Regions from separate parts of the Homo sapiens genome. Here region 1 is linked to region 2. The links are contacts of gene promoters, found by promoter capture Hi-C in human tissues and cell types (Jung and others, 2019). All regions are on one chromosome and are shown on one strand. The core of a region is centred on a gene start or on the middle of the fragment in contact, and the rest is flanking DNA. Distances in the headings are between cores, read along the strand shown. Region 1 has its middle 33 kb from the start of KRTAP21-3. Region 2 holds the start of KRTAP21-3 (keratin associated protein 21-3).

Evidence for each region. The method cuts DNA at HindIII sites, captures the fragments that hold promoters and counts their contacts. A contact is called where the count stands out against the background at its distance.
Region 1: a contact is called between a fragment that was not itself captured here and the fragment with the promoter of KRTAP21-3 in region 2, in 2 of the 25 tissues and cell types used here (aorta and stomach).

The regions. Positions count from the first base shown.
Region 1 is chr21:30,683,038-30,687,532 of GRCh38, forward strand. No RefSeq gene overlaps it. Among named protein-coding and RNA genes, the nearest start is that of KRTAP21-3, 33 kb to the right of the region's middle. The HindIII fragment of the contact is 4,885 bases long and covers 1-4,388 here.
Region 2 is chr21:30,715,708-30,720,066 of GRCh38, forward strand. KRTAP21-3 (keratin associated protein 21-3) reads right to left here and starts at 3,070. Exons shown (of 1, transcript NM_001164435.1): 1 at 2,818-3,070. The coding sequence starts at 3,052. The coding sequence ends at 2,876. The region is part of intron 2 of LOC105372773 (a long non-coding RNA gene); the gene reads right to left. The HindIII fragment of the contact is 17,351 bases long and covers 1-4,246 here.

The DNA.
Region 1 (4,495 bases), core at 696-3,195, 34 kb before region 2:
CATCCCTAAAAAGTAAGCAAGGTGGCTTACTATGCTCCAGGCATTTGAGATATGTCAGTGAATCAAACTTACAAAGACCCATGCTCTCATGGAGTTTATACTGTAGCAATTGCATTCATTTTCTATATCTGTTGTAACAAATTACTACTATCTTGAAAGCTTAAAAGCACAAATTTATTTTCTCACAGTTCTGGAAGCCAGAAGTCTGAAATCAGTATAATTGGTCCCAAATCAAGGAAATCAAGGAGTCTCCAACACCTCATTCCCTCCAGAGGATCTAGGGGAGAATCTGTTCCTTGCGTCTTCCAGCTTCTGGTGTCTACAATTATTCCCTGGCTTGTGCCCACATCACTCTAGTCTCTGCCTCTGTGGTCGCATTGCTCCCACTTATGTCCATCAAATTTCCATCTGCTTCTCTCTTACAGGAACACTCATAGCTGCATTTAGAGCCTATGTAGATAATATAAGATAATCTCTCCTTCCTAAGATCCTTAATTTAATCACATCTGCAGAGATCATTTTTCCAAACAAGGTAACATTTCTTAGGTTCTGGGCATTAGGACCTGGTGTCTTCAGGGGCGTTATTCAGCCTGCCACGGCAATGGAAACGCGCAATTCACCAAGTGATAAATAAATAATATAGTAGTCAGGCCAAGAACAGTGGTTCACGCCTGTAATCCCAGCACTTTGGGAGGCCAAGGCAGGCAGATCACTTGAGGTCAGGAGTTCGAGACTAGCCTGGCCAACATGGTGAAACCCCGTCTTTACTGAAAAATACAAAAATTAGCTGGGAGTGATGGCACACGCCTGTAGTCCCAGCTTCTCGAGAGGCTAAGGCAGGAGAATCTCTTGAGTCTGGGCAGCGGAGGTTGTAGGGAGCCGAGATTGCGCCACTGCACTCCAGGCTGGGAGACAGAGAGAGACAACGTCTCAAAAAAAAAAGAAAAAGATAGAGAAAATTGATATACACTTGAGCCCAGGAAAGGGAGGTTGCAGTGAGCCCAGATCGTGCCATTGCACTCCAGCCTGGGCAACAGAGCGAGACTCTGTCTCAAAAAAAAGATATGGTAATTAGATGGTGATAAGGGACTTAGGGGGAAATGTAGAAGATGGTAAAGGGACCAATGATTCCAGGAGTTGGAGGATAGAGAGAGGAAGAAATTACCTTTTAAAGTACTTTCTTTGGATAAGCTTCATTGAGCAAAAAGAAGGAGAAAAAGGAGTAGACCTCACTGATACTTGCAGGAAGAGCTTCCAAGCAGCAGACAGGAGCAGCCGGAGTCCAGCCTTTAAGGGGCAGCTGGCTTGCAGCATTCTCGCTACTAAAAGTTGTGAGACCAAATGAGCTTTTAGGATGACAGTGAAGCAGATAGAAATGGAGAAATCAAGAGGTCTAAGACTGGGACAGAGGCATCTTAACATTCAAATGTCAGAGAAAATAGAGATAGGAGAAAGGAGACCGAGAAAGCTTGGCCAAGGAAACAGGGAAAGGCAAGAAAGGATGGAGACTTGTAGGTCAAAGGAAGAAAGATGTTCAAAGAGAAATGAATAATGGACTGGCAAAGGCTCGTGATAGGTCAAGTAAGTTGAGAACAGAGAACTGATCTTCGTTATTTAGCGGAAGGCATTATAGATAAAGTACACAGGATCGGATTTGGCAGGCAACTGTGGGCAAAAAGCTGACTGCAATGAGTTTGAGACTCTTCTGAGTCATGGATCAGCAATCATTCCACTAAACCGTTCTGCCTAAGCGTAAGATAATATCTCATTTGCTGTAGAGTTCATAATTTGCCTCTTTAGGTAGTTCTACAGAAAAAAAGAGCTAAGTGGCTCTTTTCTACTTAAAGTGCATATGTTTCTCTCATGATTTTCCAGATGTTTGATTTATTTTCTGCAAGCTCGAGTATCATCAGACTAGATGCTTTGCTCTACAAACACAGCTGTGTGAATTTGAACACTGATGAGAGATTCACCCTTATGGAGGCATTGTCAAGGGTCACCTCCTTATCCTGGCCTAGATGGCCAGTCCATAGTGAATAGAACAATGGAAGCAAAATTATATCGATCTCTGGCAGGGCAAAGTGTGATGAGGATAATTTGGAATAACTCCACAGAATTTTAAAAAGTACTCCAATTTCTTTCTTTCTCTCTTTCTTTCTTTCTTTCCTTCTTTCTTTCCTAATTTCATTGTTTCTTTCTTTGTTTCTTTGACAGAGTCTCGCTGTGTCATCTAGGCTGGAATGCAGTGGTGCGATCTCTGCTCACTGCAACCTCCGCCTCCTAGGTTCAAGCGATTCTCCTGCCTCAGCCTCCAGAGTAGCAGGAACTACAAGCGGGCGCCACCATCCCTGGCTAATTTTTGTATTTTTAGTAGAGACAGGGTTTCACCATGTTGGCCACGCTAGTCTCGAACTCCTGACCTCAAGTGATCCATCTCCCTCGGCCTCCCATAGTGCTGGGATTACAGGCGTGAGCCACCGCTCCCGGCCATACTTTCTCACATAGACACAAATGCACAGAGACAGGAACAGAGGCAGAATGGGTAGCCCTGCACAGGCTTTGTATCATTCTCCCTCTGGCACAGCAATGGCTATTTTCCACTGTAGTAACTTCCTGGCTTAACACATAAGATGATAAACTTTATGGATTGTTTAATCCTGCTTTTTCCATAAAAGCTTTCAAGCAGCTTTAAAAATATGATGATTCTGGAGGAAAATGTGTAAAATAATCTGGACCAGATAAGATGTCAAATGCAAAGACAGTACTAGGAGTAATATTTCACCATGGGGATGCTGGTCACAAGAAACTACATAACCATTACAGGCATCTCTGAATTTTTCTTCAAATTTCCTGACATCTACCATAGAGGTGTTGTATTAGCAAGCTCAAGTTCCCGTAACAGAATACCACAGACTAGGTGGCTTAAACAACAGAAATTTATTTCCTTACATTTCTGGAGGCTCTAAGTCCAAGATCAAGGTGCCAGCAAGCTAGGTTTCCGGCGAGGCCTCTCTCCCTGGCTTAGAGATGACTACTTTCTTGCTGTGTCTTCATGTGGCCTTTTCACTGTTACTGTCTCTTCCTCTTCTTATAAGGCCACCAATACTTCTGGACTAGGGCCCCACTTGTGGATTATAACCCCATTTAACATTACTTACCTCTTTAAAGGCCCTACCTCCAAATACAGTCATATTAGGGATGAGGGTTTCATCATCTGAATTGGAGGTTTAGGGGAGGAAGATACAATTCAGTTATAACACGAGGCATGAATTTCTGGGGTCTCCCTTTTGCTAAGTTACATAAACCAGGGGGGATAGTAGGACTGGCACCTCATTGTAAACCTTTAGGAGGCTAATCAAGGTTCTCATCTGAAGGAATATTGACTGCACCTTTAAATAGAACTAGGATGTTTTCATTAAAAGAAAATTCTGGAACATCAAACAAATATTCACGGTCTCCAGATTCTTTTCTATTGATCCATATTCACAGACAAAGTTTTGTTGTTATTTTTAATTAAGTAGTGTGTATGCTTACAAAGGAATATATGTAATTTATACATGAGTTCTGAAGCATAATAATGAACACACCACTCACTGTATGAGCTAGAATTTTAACCATACCATTGAATTAGCCTGTGTGATCTGACCTCATCCAAATACCTCTATGTATGCCCACAAGAGATGTGTTATTTTGCAGTTTCAAATAATACTGCTCTAAAGGGTCTTCCACATGTCTCTAAGCACCGGAGTGTTTACCCAGGGGGAGAATTGAAGGTTTTCATAAAGTATGTTCAGATCTAGTTTCAGGAAACAATGCTAAATTGTGATCCAAAGCAGTAGTATCAATTTACACTCCCACCTACATGACATAGACGTTTTCATTGCTTTACCTTCTCAACAACTCTTAGAATTATCTTTTTAGTTTTAAATATATATCATTGTGGTCTTCATGTTTCTGTTTATTCATAAGTTTGAGCATCTTTTAAAATGTTTATTTGTCTTGCACGTTTTCACCTCTGTAAAATACCTGTTCCTGTCTTTAGCTCATTCTTACATGTTTTTATGTGTCATCTATACACATACATATATATGTTATATACACATGTTTATGTGTCACATTAGTATATTTTTCCTAGATATTTGATCTAAGTCATTTATATATGACACCAGTAATTTCTCCCAATTTATAGGTATTTGTTTTTACTTTTTTTCACTGTTGTCCAGCATAATTGGTGGGAAAAAATTTCAATTCTAGTAAAATAAAATGTATCAATAATTTATTTTGTGTTCTAATGCCCTATGTAATTGAAAAAATTCAATCTTCAGTATGGAGATATCCTATATTTTCTTCTGACAGCTTTAAGTTTATGACTTTCACTTTAACTCCAATTTGACTTGCATTTATTGTATTGCAGCATCTCTCAACCTTGGCACCATAATATTTTGGGCTGAATAATTCTTTGTTTATGGGGTTGTCCTGGACACTTTAGGATATC
Region 2 (4,359 bases), core at 1,820-4,319:
TGCATTGGTAAATAATCTCAAATGGTAATGAAATGTTTCTTTCTTTTTTTTTTTTTTTTTTTTGAGACGGAGTCATGCTCTGTCGCCCAGGCTGGAATGCAATGGTGTGATCTCGGCTTACTGCAAGCTCCACCTCCTGGGTTCAAGCGATTATCCTGCCTCAGCCTCCCCAGTAGCCGGGACTACAGGCACCACCACCATGCCCAGCTAATTTTTGTATTTTTAGTAGAGACTGGGTTTCATCATGTTGGCCAGGCTGGTCTTGAACTCCTGACCTTGTGATCCATCCGCCTTGACCTCCCAAAGTGCTGGGATTACAGGCGTGAACCACCATGCCTGGCCTCGTTTTTGTATAATCCATTTTCTCAGAGGCATTTCACCATTTTGTTGGGCTTTAATTTGAAAACACTATTGCAAAATACTCAAAAAATACAGTAATTATTTTAAAAAATCACTCAAGCAATGTAACGGTATACTCCAGTATGTCACACTCTGCTTTGCAGTCAAGATTCTAAAGTTATTACTTTTTCTATGATGAAGTTCTCAAATAGAGTTCAGTAGAGGTTAGAGGACTACATGAAGCCTATGAGTGAAGATGATACAGCACATATGTAGTGTGAGATGATGTTATCCTTTTTGTTCTTAAGTAAAATGAATATACATATTATTTTGATATATATTATTTTTTAAATAAGAAAACCAAAATAACTCCAAGTAATTTCTAACTACTAAAATTTAAAATCTCACACATGCTTCTAAGTATCTGTATATTTAGAACTAAGTAAAAACAGGCCAGGTGTGGTGGCTCACACCTGTAATTCCAGCACTTTGGGAGGCAGAGGCAGGCAGATCACTAAAAGTCAGGAGTTCGAGACCACCCTGGCCAAACATGGGGAAACTGTCTCTAACAAAAATACAAAAATTAGCCTGGCATGGTGGCAGGTGCCTGTAATCCCAGCTACTCAGGAGGCTGAGGCAGGAGAATTGCTTGAACCCGAGAGGCAGAGGTTGCAGTGAGCGGAGATCACACCACTGCACTCCAGCCTGGGTGACAGAGCAAGACTCTGTCTCAGAAAGAGAAAAAAAAAAAAAAAAAAAGTAAGAGCTAAATAAAAACAGGGAAATCCTTAGAGTTCGGTTGCTCTAGTAATTTTTATGTACTCCATGAATTCCAACAAAAGCATGAGACCAAAAAAAAAAAAAAAAAAGGAAAGAATAATAAAATCAGATGACTTAATTTGGAGGCTGCTACCTCTCAAAAGTTAGCATAGATGAAGCATTACATTGTTTGCTGCAAAACAACATACATAAGGAGTCATTTGCCAACAAAAACAAAATCCTATTATTACGTATCATGCTACATGCTAAGTATACTATCTCATTAACTATGGCAACAGTCCTCTGACATCAGTGTTTATAACCTTTTTGTTTGAATGGAAGAGGAGACTTATGAAATATGAAGATTAAGAAGTTTTCTGACACATGCACAGCTAGGAATGGGAACATTGGCATCTAATGTCACTCTCTGTTGCCCCAAAGCCTGTGCTTTTTAAGAAAGAGAAATGTTGTGACTACACTTTGCCATAGAGGAGAATTGTTTGATATCCCCATATAAATAGTCCTAGACTCACTTTATCATACATAGCAGTCTCATAGAGCAATTCCTTCGCCACCACAGGAATGGAGTCAGGAATTTTTTTTTTTTTTAGATGAGTCTCACTCTGTCACCGGGCTTTCTTAAATAATTTTATAATTATGTAACAAATATAACTGAAGAAAAAAACAACTGATTTTTGACTTTGATTTTGAGAGAGAGAAAGATATGAGGAGAAGTAGAAGGAGGAGGAGAAGGGAGAAGAGGAGGAAGAGGAGAAGTAGATGCAAGGTGATGAACAGGGAAATAGTGTAAGAATGTCATTTCTATTTCAAGTGGAATGTTAGGCAAAGTCTCCTAAGGAGTTCATATTAACCAGAATCCCAAAAAAAGTGACAGAACTGTCTATGAGAATGTTTGAGAAAAGGCCGACGGAATTAGAATTAGAATCATTGTGTTCGTGTGTGTGTGTGTGTGTGTGTGTGTGTAGCCAAGGCGGGTGGATTATAAGGTCAGGAGTTCGAGACCAGCCTGGCCAACATGGTGAAACCCCGTCTCTACTAAAAATACAAAAATTAGCCAGGCGCGGTGGCGGGTGCCTCAATCCCAGCTACTTGGGAGGCTGAAGCAGGAGAATCACTTGAACCTGGGAGGCGGAGGTTGCAGTGAGCCAAGATCGCGCCACTGCACTCCAGCCTGGGTGACAGAGCGAGACTCCATCTCGAAAAAAAAAAAAAATGTTTCAGTGATTCTCTCTCCTCCTCCCTTTTCTTTGGCTGATAATAATCTACTATTCTACACTAAGGATGATATCATTCCACTTCCTTTCTTCATTTTGTATATTTAGAAGTATATCTAATTAACAGGTACATATTTATTTAATATTAAATATGTGGTGGATACTGACAATTAAATAACTCAAGTTTTATGTAGAGTAGAAAAGATAAAGAGAAAAAGAGTTATTGAAAGTTAAGAAGAAATTTCTAAGAAGCTAAGGATCAACTAATCTACATAGTGGTCTGGCTTTCAAGGGGGTAAAACATGCCCCAAATTGGTGTTGACTCACACACGCACACAAAGAGCATTTTATATTTTTCAAAATTTCAAAATAGTCATATTTTCCATCTCTCAGTGAAACCACATTATGTCTATGACTAACAGGTACTTTGAAGACAAATGGAGTTTTCACCAGATGAGTCATTTTTCTCTAACGGAGAACTATCAGGATTGAAGGTGATTAAAGCAGAACAGATCTTTGAGAAACTAAATAAGAAACAATGCTCAATGGCATTTCTTAGAAGCAAAAAATATCAGATCATCTATAACAGAATATTTATTTTCATAACAACCATAATAACCGTTACAGCCACAGTGGGTGCTGTGTATACAGCCATACCCACAACCATAGCAAGAGCCAAATCCACAGCTCCCACACACACTTTTGTAATTGAAATACATAGTGTCAGGAGATGAGAATTCAGCCAGGTAACAGCATTTCTGGAGTTTGGAACCCTTGGGATCTTTCTATATAATAAGAGGTCTGCAAAGTGTGTGCCATCCCTACTTTGCCTTCTCATTCCCACAAGAATTTATATTTAACAAGCTTGTTGTTGTTTTATTCTGTGTCCTAAGAAAGCCTCTCATTTTAGACCTTCATTTAATTCCTGCAAGTTAATCATAGACTGTAAAAAGTAATTTGTACACTCTGTATACATGTTCTCAGTGAGCCCCAAATGTACACTCCACAAATATCATGATGCTAAATCTTGCAGGGAAGTACTTCCCTCAGCTCTAACCCAAAACATTGAGAATCCCCATCCCCAGCCTCCTAGAGAAAGGAAGGGGCTTAGTGATTCCTACCTTTTCAGGTGCCACCAGTATTACCATCCAATCCACAACTGTACTACTCAGGAGAGGATAGGCATAGGAAGGCTAAATTGAGAAACATGCGTTCAATTCTATAATATTAGAATTTATTGAGAACTTTCCTAAAAAACAGAACATGACAGTAGGCACTGCTGAAAATAACATAAAAATAAAAATGAAAAACATAAATAAGACCAAGAACAGACCTTCAATGAACTCCCAGCTTAGTAAGGAAGAGAAACATTTACACAAAAAAAGTCTCAGATTGATGCGGTTAGAGAAAAAGGAAAGAGAAATCCTATGAAATAGACCTCAAAACAATCCAGACCAGGTCCACTTAGGGCCTTCATCCATGCTGGGCTTTCACCTGCAGTTTTTACAATTTAACACCCATATCTATGACTCATTCCCTCATTGCCATCAGAGTGTGTTCAAATGTCACTCAAGGAGGCCCTCCCTGAACAGTATTATTTATAGCTAGCACCCTCCCACAGATATATCTTTATTCTCTACTTAGCATTTATCAAGCCATTTATCACCATATGATAGACTTGCATTTTACTAATTTTGTTGACTGTTTTTCTCACTGGAATATAGGATATCTGTGAAGGCAGGAATTTCTTTTTTTCTTTAGGGAATAAAATAGATTTTAAAAAAGTATAATAAACTGGGGCCAAATAATAAAGAGCTTTGAATATTAAGGTAAAAAGTGTGGAATTCATTCTAAAGGTAATGGAGAACCAGAGAAGATTTTGAGCAAATTAATGGCATAATCAGCTCAATATTTTGAGATACAGAAATCACAACCATTTATCCAGTGTACTTAGTAATGTCCTATTTCTTCGAAACCATTATTTGCTAAATTATTCTCTTGAGCAAAGATCTTTCCTTGAGCACTA